Regions from separate parts of the Homo sapiens genome. Here regions 1, 2, 3 and 4 are each linked to region 5. The links are contacts of gene promoters, found by promoter capture Hi-C in blood cells and fetal thymus (Javierre and others, 2016). All regions are on one chromosome and are shown on one strand. Each heading gives the region's core, a stretch centred on a gene start or on the middle of the fragment in contact. The rest is flanking DNA. Distances are from core to core; before and after follow the strand shown. Region 1 overlaps INAVA (innate immunity activator). Region 2 overlaps KIF21B (kinesin family member 21B). Region 3 overlaps KIF21B (kinesin family member 21B). Region 4 overlaps ASCL5 (achaete-scute family bHLH transcription factor 5). Region 5 holds the start of KIF14 (kinesin family member 14).

What was found. Contacts are between HindIII fragments. The CHiCAGO score rates a contact against its expected background, and 5 or more counts as called.
Region 1: a fragment that was not itself captured here is called in contact with the fragment with the promoter of KIF14 in region 5 in 1 of 17 cell types (total CD4 T cells); the score reaches 5.5 in total CD4 T cells.
Region 2: a fragment that was not itself captured here is called in contact with the fragment with the promoter of KIF14 in region 5 in 5 of 17 cell types (total CD4 T cells, naive CD4 T cells, naive CD8 T cells and 2 more); the score reaches 8.0 in total CD4 T cells.
Region 3: a contact is called between a fragment that was not itself captured here and the fragment with the promoter of KIF14 in region 5, in 1 of 17 cell types (neutrophils). The highest score is 6.4, in neutrophils.
Region 4: a contact is called between a fragment that was not itself captured here and the fragment with the promoter of KIF14 in region 5, in 1 of 17 cell types (naive CD8 T cells). The highest score is 5.0, in naive CD8 T cells.

The regions. Positions count from the first base shown.
Region 1 is chr1:200,906,255-200,908,954 of GRCh38, forward strand. INAVA (innate immunity activator) reads left to right here. Exons shown (of 10, transcript NM_001142569.3): 6 at 1,580-1,633; 7 at 2,476-2,686. Among named protein-coding and RNA genes, the nearest start is that of INAVA, 13 kb to the left of the region's middle. The HindIII fragment of the contact is 4,710 bases long and covers 1-2,700 here.
Region 2 is chr1:200,967,054-200,969,753 of GRCh38, forward strand. KIF21B (kinesin family member 21B) reads right to left here. Exons shown (of 35, transcript NM_001252102.2): 35 at 2,337-2,700. Among named protein-coding and RNA genes, the nearest start is that of KIF21B, 55 kb to the right of the region's middle. The HindIII fragment of the contact is 198 bases long and covers 1,217-1,414 here.
Region 3 is chr1:201,006,874-201,009,573 of GRCh38, forward strand. KIF21B (kinesin family member 21B) reads right to left here. Exons shown (of 35, transcript NM_001252102.2): 2 at 2,393-2,615; 3 at 1,896-2,078. Among named protein-coding and RNA genes, the nearest start is that of KIF21B, 15 kb to the right of the region's middle. The HindIII fragment of the contact is 2,864 bases long and covers 1-2,700 here.
Region 4 is chr1:201,120,316-201,123,015 of GRCh38, forward strand. All of the region lies in intron 1 of ASCL5 (achaete-scute family bHLH transcription factor 5), which reads right to left. Among named protein-coding and RNA genes, the nearest start is that of ASCL5, 5.5 kb to the right of the region's middle. The HindIII fragment of the contact is 9,756 bases long and covers 1-2,700 here.
Region 5 is chr1:200,619,358-200,622,057 of GRCh38, forward strand. KIF14 (kinesin family member 14) reads right to left here and starts at 1,394. Exons shown (of 30, transcript NM_014875.3): 1 at 1,054-1,394. RefSeq lists an enhancer at 662-1,163 and a silencer at 1,332-1,481. The HindIII fragment of the contact is 3,652 bases long and covers 1-2,700 here.

The DNA of each region.
Region 1 (2,700 bases), core at 134-2,633, 290 kb after region 5:
ACGCCTGTGATCCCAGCACTTTGGGAAGCCGAGGTGGGTGGATCACCTGAGGTCAGGAGTTCAAGACCAGCCTGGCCAACCTGGCAAAACCCCGTCTCTACTAAAAATACAAAAATTAGCCAGGCATAGTGGTGTGTGCCTGTAATCCCAGCTACTCGGGAGGCTGAGGCAGGAGAATCGCTTGAACCTGGGAGGTGGAGGTTGCAGTGAGTCGAGATCACACCACTGCTCTCCAGCCTGGGTAAGAGAATGAGACTCCATCTCAAAAAAAAAAAAAAAAAAAATCTGAAGGCTTAAGTTTCTTCAAAAGCAATAGCACAAATGAGTTCCCTCTGATTTCTTAGGTAAAAAGTGCTGCTATACCATGAAGTAAAGTCACACTGAATTTCCTTCAGGTGACTTGCCAGATCACCAACTGAAGAAACTTCCCTGGGGCCAGCTGGCCAGACCTTATCTTAAATTCAAATTCCTACCTTGCGTTCCTCTTGTTGTTGGTAACACAGGAGGTCTCACATTGGGATCTTTGAATTGTGTTTGTGATGTGAGATGATTATACAAAAGTTAGAGTGAAATTCCCTTTTTTTTATTTGAGACAGGGTCTCACTCTGTTGCCCAGGCTGGAGTGCGGTGGTGTGATCACGGCTCACTGCAGCCTCGACCTCCCAGGCTCAAGTGATCTTCCCATCTCAGGTTCCCAAGTAGCTGGGACTACAGGCATGCACCATCATGCCTGGCTAATTTTCGTATTTTTTGTAGAGACCAGATTTCACCATCTTGCCCAGGTGGGTCTTGAACTCCTGGGCTTAAGCCATCTGCTGCCTTGGCCTCCTAAAATGCTGGGATTACAGGCATGAACCACCGCGCCTGGCCATGAAATTCTTTTTATCCTAAGGGCCTTCCAAAATGACCCTTTGTCTTTCCTTTCCACTACCAAGAAGCCCTGCCAGAGGACACCCTTTTTCTTTTTTTTTGACAGGTGGGGAAACTGAGGTCTAGAGCATTGAAATGGTTTATTCAAGGTTGCATAGCTAGTATCAGAGTCAGGATTAAAATCAGGTTTCCTGTCTCCTAGCTCTGCCTTCTATTTTTTTCTACTTCCATGTAGTAAGTTTACAGCCAGGCCAGGCACAGTGGCTCATGCCTATAATCCCAGCACTTTGGGAGGCCAAGGTGGGATGATCACTTGAGCCTAGGAGTTCAAGATCAGCCTGGGCAAGACAGCAAGACCTCTTCTCTACAAAAAAAATAAAATAATTTAGCTGGGTGTGCTGGCATGCCCCTGTGGTCTCAGCTACTTGTGAGGCTGAGGTGGGAGGATCCCTTGAGCCTGGGAGGTCAAGGCTGCAGTGAGCCATGATCACACCACTGCACTCCAGCCTGGGCCACAGGGTAAGACCCTGTCTCTTAAAAAAAAAAAAAATCACTCCCAATGTGTATTTAGCACACAGAGGGTATTTCCTCATAACTGATGCTGTCCTGGGGGAGTGATCAGGCCTGAGCTGCTCAGCACTGCTGGTTACTCATATCTGTTTGTTCATTTCTTCACTTCCTTCTCTTCTCTCCCCTTTGTCTTTCGCAGAGCTCAGTGCCTCTGATGACAGCTCCCTGTCAGATGGGCTCCTCCTGGAGGAAGGTGAGAAGGACGTTTGGGGGACTATTGTCAAGGCTGGACTCCTACTGCAAGACCATGGGGTTTGGGCAGTTTGCTGGTGTGGAATTTAAGTGGGAGTGAAGGCTAGGGTGCCAGGCTTAGGGTTTCCGCTTGGACTTCATGTCAATTTCCGCATGTCCTTGCACATGCTCAGTTGAAGATGGGGAATGTGCGATCATCTCCCATTCTGGAAGCTCATTATTTTTACAGGGAAAGGAAAGGTGAACTCCAAGAGAGCTGATCAACCCCAGATGTCCCTCCTTCACCCTTGGGTGTGATTTCAAGATGCACCAGTCAGAGCCAAAGAGCAATCTGCCCACAATCATTGCTGTTTTTTAAAAGAAGGGAGCAGGAAGGAAACACAAGTCTATAGATTAAGAACCCTGTGTACAAACCATGAGGATGCCAGGGTCAAGGTGGATCGAGAAGCTGTTGCAGTCCTGCCCAGGGGAGTGCCCAAGCCAATAAGGAAATAAATAGGCCATATGGGCATGGCAGGAACAAGAAAAATAGGTAAACAAAAGATAACTGCAGACATGGTACCAGGAACAAAGGTTAGAAAGTGGAGCACTGTAAGCCCAAGAGAGTCAATCTGGGAGGCTTCTTGAAGGAGGAAGGCATAAAATAGGGCTGTGTGGGAAGAAGTAAGTCCCAAAGGAGAAGAAAACATGTTTGAGCATCTAGGGCTGGAGCCATGGCCTGCAGCAGCTGCACAAGCCAGCATGGGAGGGAGAGCGGCGAGGCATGGGCTGTGGTTTGTGGAGGTTCTTGTTGGGCCGGTTCCCCCAGCCTCTGGCCTTACCAGGTTTCTTTTACTCCTGCAGAGGAATCCCAAGTGCCAAAACCTCCTCCAGAGTCTCCAGCCCCACCTTCTCGGCCTCTCCCACCCCAAACCCTTGAGGGTCTGCAGCCAACAGGACCTGAGGCTGGGAGCCCAGAACGGGCTCCAGTCCAGAACAGCCCCTGGAAGGAAACCAGCCTGGACCACCCCTATGAGAAGCCCAGGAAGTCTTCTGAGCCCTGGAGCGAGTCCAGGTCAGGATCAGGGG
Region 2 (2,700 bases), core at 66-2,565, 350 kb after region 5:
ACACCACCATGGCTGGCCCTTGGCACAGCCCAAACCACACCCCAAGCATCAACACTCAGGCCTGGATACTTGCCCTGCAGTGCCCTGCCTCTGCCAGGGCAGTTTTGCTTTGTTACAAGCAATGATAAAAGATAGATCTTATTAAAAATCTATTAACCGGTCAAGTGCATTGGGATGAGACCCACTTTAAAGACTGTTCTGACACCCCCACAAGTCACCCCCTCACTTTGGTCAAGCATAAAATAATGAATACAAGGTAATGAATGCATGGAAAGTAATGGATTCTAGGGCCATCTCTGTCCCAGGATGATTTTGGCCAACTCTGTTGGCTTCTCTGGGCCTCAATTCTGTAGAATGTAAATTTATAAACAGAGAGTTGGAAAACATTATCTTTGTTTTTAAAACTCAACTTCAGAGGCTGAGGAAAAGATACCTTTAAGATGCCACCTAGTTCTGACAATTGAATGGCTCTTACCAAATTCTGAGAGGTGCCATTCCCTTGTGCCTGGGAAAGCTGCCCCATAGCTTATATCCTAAACGGGATTTTTCTTGACACTCTTGCTTTCCAAATTTTCTAAAGTAAGCAGATATTATTCATGTAATCTGGAAACAAAACAACACCCCACATTAAAAGAAGAAAAGAGTCTCTTAACCCAGTGTTCCTGTCCCCCACTGCACCCTGCAGGAGCCTTGGCATCCTCGAGAGACAGGGTGAACTACATTTGGAAAAATTACCTTGTGCTGCAAACTTTCTGGAGGGTGCAGGGAGGAGCGCAGTGGCAAGAAGGAACCAGATGGCTGGAGTCCACTCCAGGTCTGGCCCGTGACCAGTTCCCCAGTGGCCGGTCTCTGGGTCTTGCCCACACACCCTGCCCAGTCTGCAGCTGGCCATGCCCAGGTGTCACTTCCTGCAGTTCACAGTGGGCTCTTCTGTCCCACTGTCAGGCAGGATCCTATGCAAAATATGGACCTGTGGGGAGCGAGGGTGGGGCGGGGAGTGGCATGGGTGATGCCGGGTCAGCCAGCCAAAAACAACTGTCCGCAAGAAGCCACCCTGCTCCTGGGGCAGGAGGCTCTGTGCCTGCCAGCGGGGCTGGCATGTCAGGGCAACTCTGCCCACTTGTGTCTCCCTCCATGGCTCAGGGTCCCTCTCTCACTCACCAAGGCCTTTCTGTTTGAGGACCAGAAGCCTCTCTAGAGGAAACCTTCCCCAGGAAGCTTCACCCTCCCACCCACGGTGACTTCTGCCTCCTACAGACTCCAGGAATTCCCTGGCCAGAGCACCTGTCACATCCATAAGTCTGGACAAACAGCAGGGGACCTGCGCAGGCTGAGGAAGCAATTTGGTTTTATATTTGGGAAACAAAGCAAAGAGAAACCCTATTATATTCCTGATACAAATATCAGGAAGTTAAGCTTTTTAATCAGTTGTGGCTGGTGATGAAGATGTGGATTCTCCCCGAGGGGCCTCTCTGCCCAGGGGATGGGCCGGAATCTCCAGGAGTTGGTGAAACAATTCATGGTTATCAAAAGGGAATATGGGTTCTTAAAGACTGAAAAGCACTGATCTAGGACAAAAATCATGGTGAGGCACAGTGACTCACGCTTGTAATCCCAGCACTTTGGGAGACTGAGATGGGAGGTAAGGCTTAAGCCCAGGAGTTCGAGACCAGCCTGGGAAACATAGTGAGATCCCATCTCTATTTAAAAAGAAAAGAAAAGACCTTTGTAGAGCTCTTTTCTTGTATGATCTTTTTATAGTCTTGCCTTCTTTCCATAAGTGGCAAGGGACCGAGATGCGTTTGGCGTGCACCACGCACAGCGTAGTCCAGGCCCTAGAGAGGTACGTGTTACGTTAGCAAAAGGCAAAGGCTGCTGTGGTTGGGGAGGTCTAGATGCAGATCCTGGCTCTGTCCTTACTAGCTGTGATCCTGGGAAAGTCACATCCATCCCGAGACCTTTCTCATTTCATAAAATGAGAATGTCACCTGTCACACAGGGCAGTGAAGACACAATGAAAAATGCTCTGAACAGTGCCTAGGATATAGCAGTTGGTCCACAAATGCTGCTGCCCACTCTTCCAGCAACTGCACCTGCCTCTGGAGACAACATATGGAGTCTGGAGGAGAATGTGACGCTCTCAAAGCTCTCTGCTTTCTAACTGGTGAAGCCCCAAACTCACAGCTCAGGAAGTTCTCATCAGGCTGGGCCCAGCCCCAGAGGCCTGCTGCACCCATTCACCCACCCACCCACCACCACCACCAACTCCCTCTCCAAAGGCCCCAGCCAAAAGTCAGCAGCCCCCTGGAAGGGGACAGGGGACACCTCCACAGACATTGGTCATTCAGGTTTTATTTATGACAACTTCTTAGAACACACACATCCAATCTAGGAACAGAAATGTACAACATGGGGCTTAAATAACTTTCATACACTATGTACAGCCATCGGCAGAGGTACAAAACATATATACACCTTGTGCTAGTCACATCATGGAGGACAGCAGGAGCCTAATGAAGCCTGCAGCCTGGGCAGGACATGATTGCTAGAAAAGAGTTGGTGGGCAGGGCAGGGCCCTGATTCATCTCAGGGGTCTTCTCTGATCCTCGGCTCTTTGTGGAGGAGTTTCTATTTCCTACTTCCCTGCAAGGCCCTCAGGACATGGTTCACAGGACTGAACTAGAGTGTGATAGGGGCTTC
Region 3 (2,700 bases), core at 53-2,552, 390 kb after region 5:
AGACACAGAGACACATAGACACACACACACAGAGACAGACACACACAGACACACACACACAGAGACAGACACACACAGACACACACACACAGACACCCACTCACAGACACAGAGATACACAGACACGGACACAGAGACACACAGACACACACACACACAGACACAGAGACACATAGACACACACACACACAGACACACACAGACACACACACACAGAGACAGACACACACAGACACACACACGCAGACACCCACACACAGACACAGAGATACACAGACACGGACACAGAGACACACAGACACACACACAGACACAGAGACACACAGACACACACACACACAGAGACAGACACACACAGACACACACACACAGAGACAGACACACACAGACACACACACGCAGACACCCACACACAGACACAGAGATACACAGACACGGACACAGAGACACACAGACACACACACAGACACAGAGACACATAGACACACACACACACACAGAGACAGAGACACACAGACACACACACGCAGACACCCACACACACAGAGATACACAGACACGGACACAGAGACACACAAACATACACACACACAGACACAGAGACACATAGACACACACACAGAGACAGACACAGACATACACACACAGAGACACACAGACACACACACAGACACCCACACACAAACACAGAGACACACACACAGACACACACATAGACACAGAGACACACACAGAGATACACACACACAGACACAGACAGGCACACACACACACACACAGACGCGCACACAGAGACACATAGACACACGCACAGACACACACAGACAGATGCGCACACAGACACATAGACACACATACACACACACACATACACAGATGCACTCACACAGATGCACACATACAAAGATGCGCACACAGACACATAGACACACACATAGACACACAAGACACAGAGCCACACACAGACATACAGACAGATGACACACACACACAGATACAAACACACAGTCATACACACATAGGCAGTCCATTTATCAGAAGCGAAAGTCCAGAGGGGCAAAGAAAACCTCCAAATTCTAAAATGCAGGATACCCTGCAGGGCAAGCCACCACCTGTGTGCCCAGGAGGGAGTAGCTGTGTTGTGGTAGGCAGGGGCTGGGGTTGGGGAAGGCCTGGAGAGGGCCAAAGCCACATGCTTCCCTCAGAAGGCAACCTGGACACAATCAGAGCAGCAGGGTTTATGGGATAAGTGCCCTTACTGAGTGGGGGCTCAGCATAGGCCCAATGGTCAAGAGCACAGAGACCCCCTGCTCCCCACTAAAAGCCCCTCCCTGGCTGCCACAGTCTGGGCCTGATATTCTCCCAGAGACAGGAAGGGCCAGGTGCACAGAAAGACCTTTCCTAGAGGACCTTTCTGCCCTGGGGTCAGAGAAGACTCAGGGGGCCAGGAAGCATCTGAGCCAGAAAGGGGCAGGATAGGATGCCCTGAGGCTGAGGGGGAACCCAGAGAAGGCCAGAAGGAAGGGAGAGAGCCAGGGTTCTCACAAAACCCTAAGGAAACAGGTACCACCCCATTTTGCAGATGAGGCTCAGTGTGGTAAATGACTAGCCCAAGGTCACAAGGCTAATCAGTGTCAGAGCTAGAACACGTCAGGGTGTGAAGGGATCATACAGTCATCAACTCAAGCTCCATCTGATGCAGGAACCCCTTTTGAGTGTCCCACCAAGTAGTCCTCCAGCCCTTGCTTGGATTCTTTCAATAGCAGGGAACTCATCACCTGGAGATGCCCCCATGGTTCCCAGGACTCATTCCACTGCACTGGAGGAAGGCCCGGCTTCCATGGTCCTGTTGTCCACCAAGCCTCCCACCTGCCCACCCTATGGGGCCACAGTACCTCCAGAAACTGGGCGCTGACTTTGAACTCAGGTCCAGCCACGCCCTGCTCCTGTGCCCGGCGCTTGCGCTCGGCAATGCCCCCAAAGAGGTGTGCGATGGCCCTCGGGATGATGCCCTGCTCCTCCTCCGACGTTGCCATGTCAAAGCCAGTGCCCATGGTGTACGTCTTCCCGGCCCCCGTCTGCATTGGCAAAGATAGGAGGGTGTAACCCTGCACCCTTTGGGGGCACCAGCAAGCCCTGTACCTGGGCCAAATCCCCTTAGCTCATCTACCTCCCAGCCCGGTTCCCCTGCTGCTTTCTTGGTCCTGAAGCCACACTCTGGGGAAATCACTGACAGCCCTCCCTCTGCTAACCAGCGGTGCAACGGCCTCCTTAGACAATAGACAAAACCCTGAGGCTATGTTTCAGCTGCTCTGAAGGTGGAGCTTTCTCTCCATTGGATGCAGGGAGACCAAGGCTGGAGCCGCCATAGGTGGGCGTGAAGATGGCTTACCTGCCCATAGGCCAGCACCGTGGCATTATAGCCCTCGAAGCAGCCCTCGATGAGCTTGCTCACACAGGTGGAATAGATCTGTTCTTGCCAGGTGTCCAGGTCGAAGACAAAGTCATAGGTGAAGGCCTTGTCCTTCCCCAGCAGGACCTGGGGCTCTCCCGGGGTAACAGAGGTACAGATGTGACAGCCCTCAATCTTCTCCTTCGACAGCTGGGGCCGGATCCTGCCCATGATGGAGAGAGCCCTGGGTCAGGCCCAGCTAGAAGGGGGCTGCCACAGGCCCCTCCCTCACACTGCCTGCCAAGCTG
Region 4 (2,700 bases), core at 15-2,514, 500 kb after region 5:
CTGTCCACACCCCTGGGGATGGCACATTATCATAACTTGCTGTTAATGGTTTCATACTCATCCCCTGCCCATCTCTCCCAGGCCTCTCCCTGGTGCTCAATGTTCACCAGGGCCCTGTCTCCCCACCCTCCTCAGCCTTATACTCTGCATGGGCAACAGGCAACCTGAGGGCCCTCTCCCCAGGGCTCTTCCTGTCACTGCCCCCAACCCAGGCTGTAAACTGTGAGCCCAAGAACTCTGGTCTTATCCTTCTTTGAGACACACAGTACACGCTCAGTTAAGTGTTTGTTGATTGACACTGGTGGGAAGCCCTGGGGAGGCAAAGGCAGATGTGAACTTTGAAGAAGCAGACAACATAATTCTACCTTTCAGGCTTTCCTCATTGTCTTTAGCAGGACTGGAACCAGAGTTGGGGGTCTGAGGTCAGGAATTGGCTGAACATGTCTCTTTCAACAGGGAACCCATGGCTCTGAAGGAAGTATTGGGGAAAGTGATTCCATAGTCTTCTTCTTCTCCTACCACTCTGAGAGATTTCTGAGAGTTGACCAGTCCATAATGCTGCTTTTGGGCAGCAACAGGGAGACTGCTTCCATAGCCTCCCCTCTACCCACTGCCGCCAAAAACTGGGAACATTTGTAAGGAAGCCCCAAGGACTCAGAATGACAGAACTCATTAGCTTTGTGGAATCCTCACTCATTCCCCTGCCTCCAGGCAAGGTGGTTGCTAAAACCTTTCCCCTAAGGGCTGCATAATTTGAGAAATGCAGCTCCCCGCATTTCCCTCCTTGGATACCCACATTAGCGTTGGCCCTTGGAGGGCATGTTAGCATCAGAGGCCCTGGGAAGCCCTGCAGGTAAAGAAACCTGTTTGTATTTAACCCCCAAATTCCCAATGGAACCACAGAACACTTAAAAAATGGTCTTAAGCCCACTAACATCAAATAGAATACACTTCAGGAAATTCTGCCTTTAAATCTTCAGGGTAAATGTATTTTTTTAAGAAACAAATAGGGGCTGGTGTGTGGCTCACACCTGTAATCCCAGCACTTTCGGAGGCCGAGGTGGGGGGATCGCTTGAGCCCAGGAATTTGTGACCAGCTTGGGAACCTTGTGCTTCTAGTCTTGTTTAAGTCTTACTCACCGCTACATTTTCCTTTAGGAATTCAGTTTTGTGTGTGGTTTCCAATAGGGTTCTGTTTTAATTTTGTAGACCAATAATTAGCAGTGTCGATTTATTTAGCATTCATTAAGCAGGCCATCTTTTTATCACTAACTTGAAAAAAATCTCTCATTAAATATTGTATTCATCTTTCATTAGGTTCTGCATACTTTAGTAGAGACCCTATCTCTACTAAAAATAAAAACGGTTAACTGGATGTGGTGATGCATGCCTGTAGTCCCGGCTACTCAGGAGGCTGAGGTGGGAGGATCAGTTGAGCTCAGGAGGTGGAGGCTGCAGTGAGCTGTGATTGCAGCACTGCACCCAGCTGGGTGACAGACTCAGACCCTGTCTCAAAAAAAAAAACCCCAAAACAACAACAAAAACCCAAATAGGAAATCTTACAATCTCCCTTGGGGGGTCTGTCACATAACCTGTACATATTTCTAGAAGGATAACCTCACCACCCCCACCATATACATAGTGAACACTCCAGACCACATATTCAACATAAGCAATCCTTTCAGAATCTTGACGGGTATAGTTTCAACACTGATGGGAGAAGGGGCAGCCAGGCCCTGTGACCATGAGCCCACATGGCACCTTGCTGGGTTAGAAAATGATGCTTCATGCTCTGGGTGGGTGTTGTGCAGGCGGGATTCCAGCCCCACTTGCCCCCTTAGCCTGCACTGAATGAGGAAGTACTATCCATGGGCCCCAGAGCCTGCTTAGCCCCTCACGCTGCCCTCCACGCCATCCTCCCTGCCTCAGGTTTGGAAACCTCTGTTGCTCCGCAGCAACCTGGCTGCATCCAGTTTCACAAAGAGAAAAGCTCACAGAGCTTTGACATGGGCTGACCAAGCCAAGTCCTCAATGTGGCATCACTTTGCTGAGAGTCTTAAAGAAGAGAAACAGGGTGGAGAAGGATGGGCTCGCGTGGATTAGGTGCCCTCTGATGCTTGGTGCTTTGCGGCGTGCTCTGCTTTCCTTATCCCATGCTATCCTCACACCTGAGAGAAGGTATTACTGTTCCTGTTTACAAAAGAGGAAACAGGCTCAGAGAGGCTAAGAGAGCTGCTCAGGGTCACACAGCCGATTGAATTTACCAGGGTCTCATTGGGTTGATATGAGGACTTTCTTGGCCGGGCAGCGGTCCCCACCTTTTTTATGAGTAATGATTGTTACAGGATCTCCTGGGGGTGGAGCTGGGTGAGGAATTTAGTCCTTCCCAGTTCCCTGAATATAACCAGGCATTTGCAATGCTGTGGAGTTATGGGAAGATGTTCCCAGAGGCAACCACCCCACTGCTAAACCCTGAGCACGGGCTTTAGATTAAACTGGCCGGGATGAATCCTGGCGCTGCTCTTACTGGCTAAGTAGCTTTAGGCCAGTTACTGACTTCTATAAGCCTGTTGCCTCATCTGAAAAGTGAAGGTAATAATACCTACCTTAGAGGTTACTGTAAAGACAAAGGTAATGTATGTGAGCCACGTGGCACCTAAAAGCAATTGAATTAATGGTAGCTCTTATTGCCGTTAAGGG
Region 5 (2,700 bases), core at 144-2,643:
AAAATATTTTTTTTGAGATGGAGTCTTGCTCTGTCACCAGGCTGGAGTGCAGTGGCACGACCTTGGCTTGCTGCAACCTCCTCCTCCTGTATTCAAGCAAATCTCCTGCCTTAGCCTCCCAAGTAGCTGGGACTACAGGCGCCCACCACCATGCCCAGCTAATTTTTGTATTTTTAGTAGAGACGGGGTTTCACCATGTTGGCCAGGATGGTCTCGATATCTTGACCTTGTGATCCGCCCGCCTCGGCCTCCCAAAGTGCTGGGATTACAGGCGTGAGCCACCGCGTCCGGCCCATGTATGTTGAATACAGGAATGCCTATAGAGAAGATTGAATTGATTGGTGTCACGAGGCAGATTATTCCCAAGTACCACAGGCAGTAAGTACGATAAGTACTGTAAATTAATTGTGTTGAGAAAAACCATGCAAGATTAGATAAACAGACAACCTGCCCTTTAGCAGTAAGACAACAAATTAGACAGAGGTGTATGTAAATATACAGCAACAATATCTATCAGGTATTAACGTTTTAAAGAAAGGGAACAGCAGTGACAGCTAAGAGACCTGGCTTTTAGTCAGCTTTGTATCCAACTCCTTACAAGGATGTAAACAAGACTTTAAATTTGCATGCCGGGTTCTAACCTGTAAAATGACACTGGTTCAAACTATTGCAAAGATTATTGCTAGCGAGGAACAAATTAATGGAAGTTCATTTTTAAATGAGGCTTTTAAATTTTTACATAAATAACAGTCATTACAAAAAAAATTCGTCAGCTTATAAGCATCTCCCATCAACGTTTCAACTCAAAATACAGAATTTTCCTGTTATGAAATGAATTTAAAGGCAAAAAGAAGATTCTGGAAATTCTCTTGCAACTAAAAACCATTTGCGATTTGCACAAATCAATACGGTTTCTGTTTGAGGAGTTTCGCCATCAGATTTTAAAGAGGACTGGAAGGAATACAAGGAAAATAAGCACAATCCAAACCAAAACATCCGGTGATTCTGTTCTTTCTCTGCTAGTCATTACCAGGGGCTATGACTAAGAATTACCTCTTAATGCCAACCGACTCGGGGAGACTCGGGGAGAAGCCCACGGGCCGAGAGGCCCTGAAGTCCGGCTTCCCGGTCCCAGCAGAGACGCTGCCTTGCGCCCTTCGTTCGGGGACCCCTTCGCCGCCGACCTGGAATGCTGAGGAACTGAATGGGGGACTGGAGCTAAGACCACCCGCCCGCAGAGCAGTGGTCGCCTGTAGGGAAAGCGTCCGCACGCCCTCCCCAGTGCCGAAACTTCGCCCCTCCGCAGGGTCCGGCACCTTGGGGACCCCCTCGACACAGTCCCCACGCCACTCACCACCTCCAGCGCCGGCTCCCCAGAAGGCCGCAATTTGAATGGGCGCCCCGCCTTCTGATTGGCTGCTGGGCGTCGCGTCGGGTGCCGCGCCTTTGCTTCCACCCGCCCCCCGGAAGTGCCGGTGGTTGGGCTCCGGTAGCCGTCTCTGAATGCTGGACTCGCCCCACCCTCATCTCCCAGGCAACGCTCCCTCCCCTCCTCGGGTTCTGCTAAAGCGTGGAGCTTGGCCCCCTTTAAATCCGACCAGAGGAAGGGGCGGCGGTCGCGGGCGCAGCGGGCCCCTCGTTGAAGTGGGTGTCAAACGAAAAGCATGACAGTGACACTCTTGTCGGTCTTTAATCTAAAAGAAGCCATTACATCGAAGACTTCACATTGTAAATGGATATTTGCCCCCAAGTTAATCATAATAATTAACTTTTCTAGTGTTTCCTATGCAAGGCGTTCACGTAGGAAATATGCTAAATGTCTTATATGAATTTTTAAACAGTCCTGAAAATCTTGTGAGATAAATATTAATGTTATCCCTCGTTTACAGATGAGGAACTGAGGTTTAGAGTTAAACTTGTGAAAGATCAGACAATTAGCAGTGGCATAACTAGAACTTGAAGGTTCTTGCCGCCGTACAATGTAACTCCGTTTCAGTAAAAGTTCCCTTTTTTTAATTTTTTTTTTCTTTTTTGAGACGGAGTCTCGCTCTGCAGCCCAGGCTGGAGTGCAGTGGCCCCTGCAACCTCCGCCTCCCTGGTTCAAGCGATTCTCCTGCCTCAGCCTCTGGAGTAGCTGGGATTACAGGCGCGCACCACCACGCCCAGCTAATTTTTGTATTTTTAGTAGAGACGGGGTTTCACCATATTGGCCAGGCTGGTCTCGAATTCCTGACCTTGTAAGCTGCCAGGCGTGAGCCACTGCGCCGCCCAGCCCCCATAAGATTTTGAAATCTGAAAAAATATTACAAATACATTCTGAAAAATAACCAAATAAATGAGAAAGACTAGATAAATAGATATTGTAAAGCAACAATGTTTTTTAAACAGGCAAAAAGTACAGAGATATTGAAGAAGTATTCACTGAGATAGAGACCATAAGTAGCTCCAATTATATAGACCAACCAAACAGATGATAAAGTACTCATTCTAAATCTTACTCTAAAAATCATTCTAAAACTCAATTAAAATTAAGGTATAAGGAAACTATCAGAAAATAGAATATAATATTTATCAGGGCCAGGTGCGGTGGCTCACGCCTGTAATCTTAGCACTTTGGGAGACCAAGGCAGGCGGATCACTTGCAGTCAGGAGTTTAAAACCAGCCTGGCTAACATGGTGAAACCCCGTCTCTCCTAAAAA